Linked DNA regions of Homo sapiens: all the other regions are linked to region 2. The links are contacts of gene promoters, found by promoter capture Hi-C in blood cells and fetal thymus (Javierre and others, 2016). All regions are on one chromosome and are shown on one strand. Each heading gives the region's core, a stretch centred on a gene start or on the middle of the fragment in contact. The rest is flanking DNA. Distances are from core to core; before and after follow the strand shown.

Region 1 (3,318 bases), core at 656-3,155, 960 kb before region 2:
TAGCAACAGCACTATTCACAATAACTAAAATGTGAACACAACCCAAGTATCCACTGATGGATGGATAAGCAAAATGTGATCTATACATACAATGGAATATTATTCAGCTATAAAAAGCAATAAAGTACTGATATATACTACAACATGTATGACATTATGTGAAATAAGCCAGTCAAAAAAAGACAGACTTTGATCTCACTTGTAAGAGGTACCTAGAGTAGTCAAAATCAGAGACAAAGTAGAATGGTGGTTTTCAGGGGCTGGAGAAAGTGGAATGGGGAAGTTATTGTTTAATGGGTATAGGGTTTCAGTTTTGCCAGATGGAAGGAGTTATAATGATGGAAGGTGGTGATGGTTCAACAATATGAATGTGCTTAACACCACTGAACCATGCAGTTAAAAATGGCTAAGATGGTAAATTTTATGCTATGCATATTTTACCACAATGGAGAAAAAGGGGGATAAAAAAGCAGGTAGAGGGCTGTTTTGACTTTCAGGACATAGTTTGCTGACCCATAAGTTAGGCTGTTGCATTTTAAATTCTAAGCATAGACATAATGTTTTAAGCCAGTAACAAAGTACCATTTATACACTAACATCATGTTCATTTTATTCCTACAGATACATATAATTTCTGTAGTGAAGTTCTTAAGATTAGAAGCCTATTTCCCAGTACCTAGAAAAATATGTTTTATATAAAGTAAGAGTTCAGGAGTTTTTGACTGATTAATTAAAAGTAGTTGTCTTAATAACATGAAGTTTGGCATTTATTATTATATTAACACATCTGGCGTTTCAGTACAAATATAAGGTCATAATATTGTTATTCAATATCCTCTAACTCATGTAGAGGTAATTGATTTTGAAGGGCAAGTATAGCATTTTTAATAAATAATTTCATTTTTGTTATTCAGTAATCAAAAATCCTACTTTTGAAATATTGTTATACATTTAATAGCTGCCTAATATCAAAAAATAAGTATAGACTTTGTCATATGATGAAAAAAACTGCCAGTTTACTATGAGTTAAATTACATCATACCATACACAGGAATATGTTACACATTACTTTGAAGACATAAGCCAAATAATTAATCTCCTTTTAAATGCTAGACATTTTATATGCATTGAAATTTATAGTTTTTAAATATAAAATGTAAACATAATTTTAAAAAGAATCAAGATAATGCTTTTATAAGGCCACTTTAAATAAAAATCATTTTTAGCCATTCAGTATAATCCATGGTAGCAAACATAGCACTATGAAAAGCATAGGTTTGGAATCAGAGCTTGTTTCTAATACTCTTCCATTCCTTAGAGTTGTATGACCTTCAATGTGTTAATTAAGCTCTCTGATCCTCAGTTTCATTCATTGTAAAATGAAGTTAATATACTTATTCAAAAAGAAGTAGCAAAAGCTTTAAAAATAATATTGCAAAGCAGCTACATGGAATCTTTCAAAAGGCAAAATAATGCTAAAGTTACAATCTTGAGTTCCCTATAAATGATTAGTAACAGCCTCTATTCTCTTTTTTGCATCAGCTCCATGTCAGCTATTGATATCTACTTAATCAATGATTCTCAAATCTGGTCACACACTACAATCACCTGAGCAGCATTTTAAAACTAGCCATCCCCTGGTCCCAGACCAAGAGAATTAAAATCAGAATGGGTGGGGGCATGAGAGCCCAAGAATTCGTGTGAAAGTATCCCAGATGACTCCCATGTTGAAACCTCAGAGAAGTCACTCAACTTCAAGTATTCAAGAACTCAGTTCATACAATCAGTGAAACTTTAGAACCAATAACACTCCTCAACAAAAGCTTAAGAAAGCAGCTGTTAAATCATTCTTTAATTTTTCGTATGCCTTCAATTAACTCCATAGCTCCAAAGCTGCAAAATGATAAAGAGAGCTTTTGTCCCCTCTGTACATTCCTGAAAATGTGCTTCAGAATCAAAATATTAAGATCCCTCAGAGCAAGGTCAATTAAGCTTTTGACATTTAAATTTCGAAGGATTTTTTTTTTTAAAGCATATCTGGGCAAGTAAAGAACATAAGCACTAGTTCCAAAGATAAGCACCCAAGTTGATGTCAGCAATCATGTTGCTTTTTCTAAGTGATTAATGTCACTTTACTAAGTACTAATATAGAAAACTTAAATAAATTTACTAATTGGATATCCACGTTAGAGAAGGAAATTACTTTTGACTATCGCTCTCTTCTCCAATGCAGCATTTCAATTTTCCAACCAGTGTCTCCAACATTTTTGCTCTCTGCAAAAAAAAAACGCAAACCAACCTAGGATTTCCACTTCATAGAAACAAATATAAAAATGATTTATCATTTTTCATCTAGATCACTATGTAAGTTAAACCAGTCAACTTTCACATACATATGAAAACATATATACATGAATTAGATAGGAGTATATATGTATGTATATGTATAGTATACATAAAATATGTAATTATATATGAATGTACATATTACATTTGAATATATATAAAGTTGCATGCAATCTTTTTTCTCGAAGGAAAACCGAAACTGTTGTGACTCAATGTCTTTTGATATCTAAACTCTTAACCTCATAACGAATTCCAAAAAGAAGCCCATAAGATACAGAACAACAAATATAAAGTGGATACTTCTGCATGTTACTAAGAAAGTGATCTAAAGCCAGGCACAGTGGCTTGTGACTGTAGTCTCGGCCATGCAGGAGGCTGAGGTGGGAGGATCACTTGGGCCCAAGAGGTCAAGGTCAGCCTGGGCAACATAGCAAGACTCCAGCCTGTCTCAAAAGAAAGGGATCTAATCTAGAATGGTAAGGGATTAAAGCAGTACAGTAGAGGCCAAAATGAAAGACATTCAAGATGACCACAGGATCAGACCCTTTTAAGGCAGGGACTTCACCAGCACAGACCCTACGGCAGCCACTATTTCTGCACACCATTGCTTCCACTGAAAAGAAAATGACACCCAACCCATATAATTCACAATGTCGTAGAATGCTAAATGCGAGTTAAATGTGTGAAGGCACCAAACAAACTTCAAACTATCCCTTTTGATGTTACAATTATTATTTAGAATGTTTCAAAGAAAAAGCAGCAGCTGAGAGGCCATAAAACAATTTTATTTTCCTAAAATACTCATTCCCTGAATGGGCTAATTTATCATAGAATTAATAAAAGTGAAGATAAGGATATCAACTACATTTTTCCTGAAATGTATTAAAATATTACAGAGTTAATGGTTAAATATAAGTTATCCGTTAAAATGTATAACGTCATGGTATGTTATATCATACCATGGTCAAGAAA
Region 2 (3,401 bases), core at 880-3,379:
GGATGGTTTGAGTATTGAATCTCCAAAGTGAGAAAGGGATCTCGAGAATGCTAGGGCTGGAAGATACTCCTGATTGTTTTTAAGGTTTTGTTATCTTAATCTAGGAAAGTATTATTTTTCCTATTTAACAGATAGATTAAGTTACACTGTTACTCTAGCTAATGAAAACATGTTACATTTCTCACTAGAGGTTAAGAGGAAAGACAGTCTGGTAACATCTGCCTAGTAAGTAATGAAGACTAATATTCAAAATTCAGGGAACAACTCCTATATCTCATATTTAAACAGTATTTAGCACATTTGTTTCTCTGTATGGAGACAAGATTAAGAGGTCAGGTGAGATCCTTTTAAGAAATGTAGAAAAGTGGTGATTGAATTAATAATTACATCATGTTATGCTGTGGTTGGCTTTTAGATTTCCATCTAATCTTAAAAAGAAGAAGAAAAATAACCCCACTACATGTTGCATCAGGCATTTTAAGTAAAACGTGCAATTTAAAAAATATTTTTAAAATGTGTGGAGATAGAACAAAACAATGGAATTGTTATTATTATCAGAAACTTCTACGTAAAAATGTTGGTTAAAGCAATATATAAAGATTGATTCTCGGTACAAATTGCTTGGAAAGTTTAACATGTGCACTAGATTTCAGATATTAAAAGTTAAATTAAAAAAAAGAATCTAATGGCAGCGTGTGACTTTAACCTCATGGATTTTAGCCACAAACGCAAAGAAAAATATATACAATAAAAGAAGCAACAGATTTTCCCACAAGCAGAGATTTTCTAATTAAAATGCTGTCACTTTAATATTTTTTAGCTATAGAATTTGACTGTAAATGTCTTCATTATGTAGTGTAACTTCTATAGCAAGTTATGTTAACGTTTTCAAGAATCGGAAATATTGGTAACTCGATGGGGTTCTTAAAACAGAAATAGTTTCTTTGATGAGTTGGAAAGAGAAGGAAATAAAAGTCTAAGGTAAGCGCCAGTTTCACCCTCAATTCTTAGGCTTCAGAAAAGCCTAATTAGGCAGGGAAAGGAATCTGGGCCTGGCACACCCAAGCTTAGACGTGGCAGGATCCTGAAACAATGTTTTTTTGAACCTTTGAGTCATATGCCACAGGCAAACCATAGCCGCGATATGCAGGTCCTTAAGTCAACAGGTCCTCTAACGAGATGGTGAGTGGTTGGTGCGTGGCAGTTGGATTTCTTCCCGCCACGGAAGAAAAGAACTCTTCTCCATTGATCAGGAAAGTGGGCCCAACTCTGGCCTGGAGAGCGCACCCGGAAAAGTGCAGAGTCGAAACAGAGAGAGAGGGGTGTCCGCGTCCCGGCCACAGAGCCCTTTCCAAACCACTCGGAAACCATTTAAATGGCTCGGCGGCCGCGGTTTGCAGCCTAGAACTGTTTGGGGTCCCCGGCTAGGAAAGTTGCCTGGCAAAGCCATGTCTTTCGCTGTCGCGGGATGTCCTCTCGGGCAGAGAGGCTGGAGGAGACAGGCAACCTGCTAGCCGGAGTGGAAGCGCGCCCGCCTCCCGCCGGGCCCTCCCTCTCAGGGTCCCCACGCTGCGACCCTCCCAAGGGCAAGTCCGGGGCCACCAGGTCTTTGGTCTCCGTCCAGCTCCTCAGGGGCCGCCCCATAGGGACTGGCGGGGGCACCGTGGGCGAGAGGGTGTGACCGGGCTCCCCCCCGAGGCGCCACCTGCCCCTTGGCCCAGGGCGCCCCTTTCGGGATCTCTCCAGGGGCAACCGACACACTGCTCTCGAGACCGTCTCCAACCGGCCACCTGGACCGTAGCCCTGTCCCCAACACGTGAACCCCTGCGGCCGTCCTCCCGCCTGCTCTAACGCAGCCCAGGGGTACCGCGTCTCCCTCCGCCTGCCGCCGGCTTACCTGGCGGGTGGGCAGGGCAGGGTGGCGGGAAGCGGCGGCCGGGCAGGCGCTGGACGTGGGCTAGGCGCCAGGTGCAGGTGGCGGCGGCTGCGACTCCGGTTGCTGTCGCCACAGTTGCGGCTCAGTAGAGCTCCTCCTCCGCCGCCGCCTCCTGCCTTCCCGCTGGGCCTCCCGCGTTGCCTGGAGAGGCAGAACCGAGGCTCGGCTTCCACTTGGAGTCTCCCAGGTGAGCTCCAGCCTGCGACGTCGGCAGGGGCGAGGCCCCACTTCCGCGCCTGCGCGCCAGCCTCCCGCCCCGCCCCAGCCCTACCTGAGCGCTCCAGGTGAGAACCTTGGATCGCGCGCGCAGGGTGGGGGCGCCGTCCGGGCCAAGCCTGGCTGTCGCGCGGCTTCTCTCTGAGTGGTCGGCGAGGCTGCTGCTCCGCGCAAGTTGTGGCTCCCGGCCCATCTACATTGGAGGAATCCTGCACTGACCTGGTGGCAGTGATCACCTTGTAGCCAGAACACAGTCTGCTGGGTCCTTGGGGAACCAGAAGTTCTAGATTTCCCCCACACGGTTCCTCCCTTCCTCCTCGGTTCGCCAAAATGAAGGGGTGCGCTGCCTCCGAGGACCACTTCGGGAGGGCAGCAACTGCTGGCTCATGTGGTTTCTTCGGGCAGGGTTCAGCAGCTTCTGTCACCAGTTAGGTTTCGTGAGCTTCCTTCCCGTGTAGTCTTGATTTCATCACTTGACTCACTTCAGCGCAGCTAGTGGTTTCCGTTTCTGTACGCGGGCGCTCTGGTAGGGGCGCCTCACGTCCAAAGGAGGAGTCTTCTTCCAAAGAAGAGCCTTTGGTATTTGGCAGAGCCTCGCCAATTTGGGGCGCACCTCCCCTTCCTGGGATGCTCTCAGAAGGCAAACCAATTCCCAGAAGAGAGGGAAAAACAGCCACAACAGAGAGAACCTTTGCTGTCCCTGTTTGGAAAGAGATTGGGATTTCCTGGAGAGGGCTTGCTTCTACTGCAGGTTTGTTTAAAAGCTCAACATCTATTCTGGAAGAGAACAACGCAGACTCCAGGAAGATGGTGGGTTTTGCTGTTTTTAAGACAAAAAAAAATTGTTAAACAGTATTTGTTCCATTTATGACACAACTTTCTGTTTCAGCCTTCCTTCTGCTGCTGCAACAAACATTGACACACCCAAAACCAGGACTTAAAATGGCCTTTATACCTTTCTATGAACTCATTTCTTTGGCCCTATCCCAAAGATATCTAGGGATATAAATAGAAAACTAGCTAAAAACTTTTTGGTGTCGTGTTTAATCACATGGTGGTAGGTTTTACTATGAAGTTTAGTTGTGGCCTTCCTCCTACATTTTGACATGCTCTTATGGTGCTTATTCACTGTTTTATTAGTGCTATGCGTGACCTAAAAATAAGGTTTAAAATACAGTTTAGTATAGTATCAACAAGTGTATCTTTAGTATTTGACTACTCTAAGACATTGGTTTTAGCATCCATAGTG
Region 3 (3,551 bases), core at 648-3,147, 780 kb before region 2:
GATAAAATCTCATCACTTGGACCCTAAGACATAATTTTAACCTTGAATACTTATGGAAACAGGCAGTTTGCATGAACGAATGATCCACCTGCTCATAAAACTATAGAATATGATGAGGCCTGTGGTATATGTATTTCCTGTTACAAGACATTCAAATTCAATTAAGAATGAAACAGAACAAATTATAAATATTTTAACAAGGGAAAGAAAAACTTTGTCTAGCACTCCACTCTGGCCAATTCTTTATGCTCCCTGCCCATATGGCAGTTTTATGATAATGTCAAGTTCCTTCTTACCTCAGCATTTTAGAACAGACCATTCCCTCTGCCTGGAATGCTTTCCTCTTCCTTTTTATTAGTTACCAATTTCTTGTCTTATAGACATTGGTCTAAAATCACTTCATCATGGAAGCCTATCCTTTTTGTACTCTTGCCCTGAATTAGATTCCATTTCGCTGTTATAGCACACTTACCCTCTTAGCCTTTGTTCAAAGTTATGATTACTTATGAAATATCTCTCTGTTCCTTTGCATTCATCCATCAAGTCACACATGCTGTAAATCTGTATTAAGCCTCTACTTTTCCAGGAACCTCCAATGTATTGTAAATTCATGGCAAGGTTCCCAGCATTGACTAGCTGGAAAGTGAATATGGAGGAAAGAGAAAAAAAGATTAGAAAATAACTTTTGAGTGGTAAGCCTGGAAAAATGATGAGACTATAGAGAATATAGGAAAATCAGGATGGAAGCAGGTTTCAGGACAGAAGGAAATATCTTTTTATTTTCAAATTGTGAGGAGACATTCAAAGTTTGTTGAATGTATAAGAGGCTGAGAAGCCATTTGCAAATTGTCTATAGAAGTGTGAGTATGAAGCTGTGAGACTACTTAGTGACTACAATCTCGAAGGCATGGAAAAGAATTTTTTAAAAAAGAAAGGATTGGCATATTTGAAGGGCAGTCTGGAAAAGTTAGCTCAAAAATGGAAATTTTCTTCTATATTTTGTATGAAATACAAGTTGGTTTTTTAAGCTTACTTTTAAAGGAAGTAGGTATATTTAGCTTCAGTAAACAAGGAAGGTTAGATGAAGTCCCTGATGTGCATCATTCCACTAGCAAGAGAATGGTGTAACACTTCTAAGGTGAAAAAAATGTAGCAAGGTTTAGTTCTTGGCTGAGCAATATTGTTCTGTAATTGTACAAGTTGGAGACTTAATTAGCCAATTAAATCCTGCTTCTCCATCCTTCCTCTTTCTAAATATACATTTTGAGCTCTCTTCTGATGTTGAAAAAACTCTCCTGTCTTTGAAACAAGTCCTGAAAATATTATTCAGTAGAAACCCATCTGCACAGTGATTGAGTCACAACAAATCCAGATTCCTGGAATCTGTGAGAAAGGCTTGTGCTCATCACGCCATCTCTCCCTTTTCATAGTTCTACGTTGAGGTCGTCCTGAGTTTGTTTTTAAGGTATTTTCTGCGCTGCTACACACTGTCATTTCACGTGAGGGCAGCAGAGAGGCAGCGTAGAAGCCCCTGAATAGCAAATCAGAAGAGCCCGAAGCTCAAATTTTGGGCGTAGTGTTTTCAGAACACCTCTTCAAAAATTAAATCACACGTTGTTTGTATCTCCTTAAACAATCCTAGTCTATTGATTTGCCTACTCTGTTCTTTTAAAAAAAGAATCAGACCTGTATCTAAAAATAGGTAAGAACATGTGAATACAGACTTTTGCAAGAGTTGTATCTGGTTTGCCCAGAATACGTTTTCTAATTTTTCTTCGGTCGTTACAATTTGACAACAGATTTGTTTAGTAATCACGTTATTATATTGTCCTATATACTTAAGAATTATTGTTTTGAGCGTAGTCCAAGCCCTGATGCCATTTTGAAACATACGGAAGCACATTTTGATTAAATGCAGTTTGAATAAAACACTGATGAAATAACAATAGCTTTTGTATCATATTTGTGAACGGTCTTTGGCTGTATCCTAGGTGGCAATAAAAAGGTAGTGAGTCAATTTGGATATTGTGAAAAAATTATTACTATTGAATTACAGCATAGAAAGTAACATATTCCCTAGGCTTCAGGCTCCCTGTCACTTAGCACTGCCTTTGTTCTCTCTGCCCAGAATGTTATTTTCCCTACCATCATCCCAGGCCACTTTCCAGCCACGCCCATCCTTTTGCAAGACTGACTTCTGTGGGTACTGCAGGTCTCAGGGTACAGGTGCCATCTCTGGGCAGCCTTCTCCACTGCTTCTCGATTTTCTTGGCCATTCTGTGCTTCTCCTGTTTACTCCTATGGTCCTCTGTAGGCTCCTATGGGAACTATGTCTTGTTCCTAATTTTGTCTCTAGTACTTAGTACTATGTGCTTAGTAGAAGCCCGTTAAAAAACAAACAATAAATACTTAGAATCTTTATCAAGATGGTGGGAGTGGGGAATAGGAGGAGCAGAGAACTATTCAAACTGTGAAAAAGAGGTTAAAAGAGGATTTGCCACCCTGCCTATTTTAGCGTAGGGGTAGGAGTTTAACATTTGAGGCAATAGCAAAGATGATGGACATCAGTGCTTCTCAGCAAACATTTGACAATCTCAGGTAAGACCAGATAGATCTTAGGTCTATAGCTAGTCAGCTAGTCAGTCATATGACTCAATACTGGTGACAGCTAGGGGCTTAAAGGAAATAAAAACACGTTTGTGAAAATGCTTTGTGTAGGGCTAAGCACAGAGAGGAGTGAGCATCGAATGTCTGCTGAAAAACAAAAGAAGCTTAGACTTTATCGTGATCTTAGCAAAATTCTTTTCCTATAGCTTTCTGGTCGTTAAGGTGACTCCCTCAAGGGCATCAGTCTGCACTGGAAATCATTGCAGTGTGGTAGAGAGAGGGAGAGGGAGCTCTTTATAGAGAGGACTCAGCTCGCCTTCGCCTTCTTAGCATCTTGTTGCTAGGCAATAGCTCCTCTGGTGGAAGCTCATCTCCATTTTTAAAGATGGAGTGAAGTCTTGCCGAGGGAAATGCAGTTTGTACAAACTGGGCCATGTGCAAACAGTATTTTGCTCTAGTCCTGAAAACTGCTTTTCCCTATAAGGGAGACAAATCAGTCCTACTTAAATCCTGTCACTTAACAACCAGATAATATAACTCCTCTCTTTCTCTCTCTTTTCTGTAAAGCATAGACTTCCTTTTTAATCTTATTGATTTATTTTTACCTTTCCAACTATATGTCTTTCCAAATTGATTTAATGAGATTCAGCAGGGCATTGCTTGTAATAGTATTTCCCTAGACTGCTGAATTAATTTCCATTTAAAAAATTACTTTGGATCTGCAGCTCTGTCCGGCACCTAGCGTATTGCTCTTACTGCATTTTACATAATGATAAAATATAATGAGTGGTCAGTAAGAAGGGCCAATATTTAATGAATATAGTTTTTTTTAAACAAAGTGTAGATAGGTCATACTGTTTGTATATATCTGAAAAACCTATACATAATTTGCTAGACTCTAAGCTTTCAAAAACCAATATAGAATAATTATCTTTCTCAGAACT

The links. The method cuts DNA at HindIII sites, captures the fragments that hold promoters and counts their contacts. A CHiCAGO score of 5 or more calls a contact.
Region 1: a contact is called between a fragment that was not itself captured here and the fragment with the promoter of GALNT3 in region 2, in 1 of 17 cell types (naive B cells). The highest score is 5.1, in naive B cells.
Region 3: a contact is called between a fragment that was not itself captured here and the fragment with the promoter of GALNT3 in region 2, in 4 of 17 cell types (total B cells, naive B cells, neutrophils and 1 more). The highest score is 14.2, in total B cells.

The regions. Positions count from the first base shown.
Region 1 is chr2:164,835,225-164,838,542 of GRCh38, forward strand. The region is part of intron 2 of COBLL1 (cordon-bleu WH2 repeat protein like 1); the gene reads right to left. Among named protein-coding and RNA genes, the nearest start is that of COBLL1, 4.9 kb to the right of the region's middle. The HindIII fragment of the contact is 169 bases long and covers 1,822-1,990 here.
Region 2 is chr2:165,792,118-165,795,518 of GRCh38, forward strand. GALNT3 (polypeptide N-acetylgalactosaminyltransferase 3) reads right to left here and starts at 2,130. Exons shown (of 11, transcript NM_004482.4): 1 at 1,898-2,130. LOC124906086 reads left to right here and starts at 1,469. Exons shown (of 6, transcript XM_047446887.1): 1 at 1,469-1,675; 2 at 1,802-2,220; 3 at 2,683-2,962. The coding sequence starts at 1,469. RefSeq lists enhancers at 880-1,786, 1,787-2,692 and silencers at 1,763-1,852, 1,923-2,072. The HindIII fragment of the contact is 5,078 bases long and covers 1,065-3,401 here.
Region 3 is chr2:165,015,496-165,019,046 of GRCh38, forward strand. No RefSeq gene overlaps it. Among named protein-coding and RNA genes, the nearest start is that of SLC38A11, 62 kb to the left of the region's middle. The HindIII fragment of the contact is 1,743 bases long and covers 1,027-2,769 here.